Linked DNA regions of Homo sapiens: region 2 is linked to region 1. The links are contacts of gene promoters, found by promoter capture Hi-C in blood cells and fetal thymus (Javierre and others, 2016). All regions are on one chromosome and are shown on one strand. Each heading gives the region's core, a stretch centred on a gene start or on the middle of the fragment in contact. The rest is flanking DNA. Distances are from core to core; before and after follow the strand shown. Region 1 holds the start of GIMAP1 (GTPase, IMAP family member 1). Region 2 has its middle 25 kb from the start of GIMAP4.

Region 1 (2,705 bases), core at 106-2,605:
CTGCTGCATGCATTACCTACATATACTTTTGTAGTCAGATAAACCCTCTGACAGAGAGTTATGAGTGGCTGAAGTAAGACATCATACACATGCATGGAAACAATAAATGGCCCGGAGCTGTTGAAGAGGCTCTGAAAGCGTCTTTATGAAAGGTACACGTCAAGTATCAAAGACTTATTCAAAGCTGATCTATGTGGCTTGGGCTAGGATGAGGCTAGTGAGAAGCCCTAGGCACCTCACTCTTAAGAAAACACTCACTCCCAGGGTCACCCACCTACAAGATCTGCACTTGGGTGACCTGAGAGTGAGTGCCTCCTTAAGCTGTGTGCTCTAGATGCCCCACCTGCCTCACAATAGCCCCAGCCCTGCCGGTCTACTGGGAGAATGACAGGCTCCCTGTTTCAGCAATGATGAATGGAAACAGTGGACATGTCAGATATCCAGGAGACTCTGTGCCCCCAAAAAGATGGGAAACAGTAAAAGCTGGGTCTCTTCCCTACCAGAAAAAAAGTGGTCTGGCATGAAAGAGGTTAAAAAGCAGATCCTATCCAGTAGGGTAAGACTCGGGTTATTGTCTTCCCCATATACTCCAGAAAGCCAACTCCAGAAAGTTTAAATGAGTTAGGTGAGGTCCTATAGCTGGTTAATGACCTAACCAGATATGCAGCCTGCTCCTCTGTAGCCTTCTTACCACCCAGTGATTCGCTTTTTTGCTGACCTCATGATGCTCTTGAGAGAAGATAGAATAACTAGAACTGGTGATACCAACATAGACGACTAGACTAAAGCCTCCTAATAAGGCTAAATTGAAGATAGTGCGAAGGTGTTCATCCTCAACATACCAGTTCACCCTCAAGTCCTTCAATAGCTGGGAAAGCCCTCCTCTCTCAGAGAATGATAAGACTTTGCCTTCAGGTTTTTCTGGCAGACTGGATCTGGGGCTGGCACTGGCCACATGAATGTCTAATTAATGGACAGATGATGAGAACAGCTATTACGTTATTTGTTCCGGGGCAGGAGACTCTCTGGGCCTATTTTATATGGGGAAATGTCCCTATAGGGCAAAGGCAACTGAAGATTAGCTCAGTAATCAATTTTAGAAGTACAGTCAGGCCTCAGAGACTACAACATCCCTCCCTTCTTAGAGCATGGCAAGATATTTGACATCATGAGGCCCTGCTGGAGACACATAACCTCAGTCACAGCAGAAAGTAGAGTCGGTAGGAGAAGTATTGCCAACCCACAGCTCAATGGGAAATGTTTCTGTCTCTTTAAACCATAACCATGGGGCCCACCCTGAGCTTCCTGATTTCTGAAGTCTGAGTGATTTCCTCCGTGTGCCGAGAGGAAACAGCCTTCTGCACTCACAGCCGAAGGGAAAGCAGCAGGTTGGGGCTTCTTGTGGCCAACTTCAGAGCCTGTCACCAGGAAAGGTGAGCCTGAGCCTGGGAGTGGCGGGGGCTGGGGGTGCTCTGAGAACCAGAAAGAACATGATTCCTAGAGTGTTTACTGCCTGAACACTTGCATTCTACAAGGCATCATGCAGGCGAGCAAGATCTGGAACAATCAAGGACATACTTCCAGGTTTTTAAGTAGGCAAAGTTCAGAGGAAATTTTAGGATCATCTTCTCCAGCTCTGGAGCACACACGTTCTTGGTGGGGAGTGAAATCTGTCTCCTCCCACATTCCCTTAACAAAGTAAGAAAAGAGTGTGCTGGAACCACCTCCAGGAATAAAATACAGTTTGAAAGGCATTAAACATTCCTCAAGCTCCCTATTGAGCAAAGGCAAAAGATATTTCTATGGCCCCATAAGCCATCTAACCTCGGAGTGAGTTACGACGTGACAAGACTGGGTACATTTGAACTCTCCTCCTCACTGTCCACAGAAGGGGCCCCTGAGGAGACATCTGAGATTAATATCTTGGTCTTCAACCCCTTTCCCTGCATGGCCCCTTAAACATCTGCTCCCTTAATTCAAGCTTCTCCTGCTCCAGCCACGGGGACACCTCAAATTCCCATCTGTACAATAAAGGGGGTTGCAAAAATGACTGATGTCCAAGTTCTGAGCTGTGGACATCAGAAACATTTAATTCATGAATCAGAATCTCAGGATGGATCCAAGAGATGTACATTTTTAAAGAACATTCAAGTAATTCTGAGAAGCAGCACATTTGAGCGGTGAAGAACTCAATAAACTTTGCGGTCTCTTAAAGTGTTAGGAATACAGGATTCTATAAGTGTACATTCCTCAATGATTAAGGGCCATTTGTCACCTCAGAGTTCAGCTGGGTCTTACTTTCCTTTAAAAAAAAAAACTATTTAAAATCATTTCAACCCCTCTTCTAAACTATGGAAAATTCCAAAGGCCTATCCAGAATTCTGCAGCACTGGAAAAAGAAATTCTCATTTTCTTGGTTGACAAGGACATTTTGCTTCATCTAAATTCTTTTCTCTGAATCTTGCAACTGTTTCTTCATTTCTGCTTTGATGTCATTTATGATCATCTGTTCATTCCTACATGCAAAATAATTAATCACATAAGGCCCATGGAGTGAATTTTATTGAAGGCTTTGGGGAGGGCCAGTAGAGTTCCTGCAGAAACAGAAACAGCTCTAGATTTAATATGAGGCAAATCTGTTCTCCAAGTCCTTCAATCAAAGACAAGTTACTCAGCCAGCCTCTCTCTCTGCCCCTCCTTCATGT
Region 2 (2,797 bases), core at 288-2,787, 170 kb before region 1:
GGCAACCTGGACTTAATTGTCCATATCACTATCATTGTTTTGCTCAAAACAATTTAACCAGTCCCTAAGAAGTTTCAAACTTTCCCTCATTTTCCCATCTTCTTCTGATCTCTACAAAGTCTTCTAACCTCTGCTACCCAGTTCCAAAGCTGCTTCCACATTTTCAGGTATCTTTATAGCAATGCCCCATTCCTCAGTACCAATTTTCTATATTAGGCAGTTCTTACATTGTGATAAAGAATTACCTGAGACTGGGTAATTTGTAAAGAAAATAGGTTTAATCAGATCATGGTTCTGCAGGCTGTACAAGCATAGTGCTGGCATCAGCTCAGCTTCTAGGGAGGCCTCAGGGAGCTTTAACTCCACTAGGCAGTGCCCCAGTAGGGATTCTGTGTGGGGCTTCTAACTCATTTCCCCTCCAAACCCTGCTATTAAAGGTTCTCTGTGAGGGCTCTGCCCCTGCAACAGGCTTCTTTCTGGGCACCCAGGCTTTCTCATACATCCTCTGAAATCTTGGTGGAGGCTGCCAAGCTTCCTTCACTCTTGCATTCTGTATGCCTGTGGGCTTAATACCACATGGAGGCCTCCACAAACTCTTCCAACCTCTGCCTGTTACCCAGTTCCAAAGCTGCTTCCACATTTTCAAGTATTTTTATAGCAGGGCTCTATTCATCAATACCATTTTTTAATGTGACAATTTTGTTTTGATTTTTTAAAAAATGAGTCTGTTGATTTAATCAGGGCTTTGGGGTCATAAGACATTAGTCACTGTCATAGTCATAATGATGCATTTATTCAGGGAAAATTTTAATTTTTTTTTTCTTCTTCAGAAACAGCTGCAGGAACACCTAAAATTAAGCAATGTTCGTCCATAAAACTTTACTGAAACTTGATTCCTTTCACCAGAGGAAGATCCTTACCATAGTTGATGATACAAGTAAACCTTCTCATGCACTATTTCCAGGAGTCATCACCAGATGCCCTGCCACCACAAATGTGCTTTTCTCCTCCAAATGCACCTGCAATCTCAGCTCCGCTCATTGGAATATTGACATTTACAATGCCACAGTTAGATCTTTTAGGTCCAAGCCAGTGGAAGATTCTGCCCAAATCTTTGGTAAAGATGCTACTTGAAATACCCTGTTTTACTTCATTATTTCACACAAAGAGCTCTTCTTCATTCTTAAATTTAAAAACATAGAGAATTGGAGCAAAAGTCTCTGTGTATAGAAGCAGGAACAGACACATCACATGGCAGAGCAGGAACAAGAGAGAGAGAATGGGTAGGGAAGGTTCCACACATTTAAACAACTGGATCTCAAAAGAATGCACTATGACATGAGAGTCTGCCCTTATGACCCAAACACCTCCCCCAAGACCCCACCTCCAACACTGGGGATCACAATTCAACATGAAATTTGGCAGCAACACATATTCAAACTATATCAACTCCCTTTCTGTTGTGCATTCCTCAATCTTGAGGGATATGGGGCAATGGCAATTCTAGCTACTGTTTGCTGACAAGGGGAATTGGTCTAGGTTTGAGGAATAAAACTGTTTTACATTTAATTGTAAATACACATGGGTCCCAGAATGTGGCCAAGCCTTTGGGTTTGGGCTCTTATATTAAAGTAGAAATTTTTTTTCATGATTGAGAAAGATGGAAAGGGGGCATATAATGGCTCAGGAGACAAAGTCCATCAATTTACCCCCTGTATAAGCATGTGTGTGTGCCTGCCCTTGATTTTGGGGATCTGAACCCCTTAAAACTGGCCCTTACAATCTCATGCATCCACCTCTTCCCTGGTAGTCCCTGGGCCTAGAGGAAGGGTATATTGCTAACAGAACAGTGCTTTGCCCCAATGGGATTTTAGAGGAAGGAGATTTGCAGGCTTTGTTGAGTTATTTCTAGTTTTCAGGATACCATTATTCTGGTTTTCTTAGAAAAAGTAAACAATGAGAGATGAATAACATTGTTAATTTTGAGTAGTACAATCAAAAGAAAATGTCTCTGACAGAATGAAAAAAAATCTTATTGAATTAGGAAGCAAAATAAAAACATCATGAAGAAAATTATGGGTCCACCATTACTGAGGCTTGAGAGGGCAGTTTTCCCCTCACAATATGAACAAAGCCACTGGGAAGTTTGGACTGGGCAGAGCCCACTGCAGTGCCTCAAAGCTGCTGTAGCCAGACTGCCTCTCTAGATTCGTCTTCTCTAGGCAGAGCATCTCTGAAAGAAAAGCAGCAGCCCCAGTCAGGGGCTTATAGATAAATCTCCCATCTCCCTGGGACAGAGCACTTGCGGGGAGGGGTGGCTGTGTGTACAGCTTCAGCAGACTTAAATATTCCTGCCTGCCAGCTCTAAAGAGAGCAGCAGATCTCCCAGCACAGTGCTCGAGCTCTGCTAAGGGACAGACTACCTTCTCAAGTGGGTCCCTGAACCCCGTGCCTCCTGATGGGGAGACATCTCTCATCAGGGGTTGACAGACACCTCATACAGGAGGGCTCTGGCTGGCATCTGTTGGGTGCCCCTCTGGGATGAAGCTTCCAGAGGAAGGAGCAGGCAGCAATCTTTGCTGTTCTGCAACCCTCAGTGGTAATACTCAGGCAAACAGGGTCTGGAGTGGACCTCCAACAAACTCCTGCAGACCTGCAGCAGAGGAGCCTCACTGTTAGAAGGAAAACTAACAAACAGTAAGCAATAGCATCAACATCAACAACAAGAAAACAACCATGCAAAAACCCCATCCAAAGGTTACCAACAGCAAAGACCAAAGGTAGATAAATCCACCAA

The links. The method cuts DNA at HindIII sites, captures the fragments that hold promoters and counts their contacts. A CHiCAGO score of 5 or more calls a contact.
Region 2: a fragment that was not itself captured here is called in contact with the fragment with the promoter of GIMAP1 in region 1 in 7 of 17 cell types (total CD8 T cells, non-activated CD4 T cells, naive CD8 T cells and 4 more); the score reaches 15.6 in total CD8 T cells.

The regions. Positions count from the first base shown.
Region 1 is chr7:150,715,258-150,717,962 of GRCh38, forward strand. It overlaps GIMAP1 (GTPase, IMAP family member 1), which reads left to right and starts at 1,356. Exons shown (of 3, transcript NM_130759.4): 1 at 1,356-1,433. GIMAP1-GIMAP5 (GIMAP1-GIMAP5 readthrough) reads left to right here and starts at 1,356. Exons shown (of 5, transcript NM_001303630.2): 1 at 1,356-1,433. The HindIII fragment of the contact is 9,233 bases long and covers 1-1,979 here.
Region 2 is chr7:150,540,875-150,543,671 of GRCh38, forward strand. It overlaps the pseudogene ALDH7A1P3. Among named protein-coding and RNA genes, the nearest start is that of GIMAP4, 25 kb to the right of the region's middle. The HindIII fragment of the contact is 2,016 bases long and covers 530-2,545 here.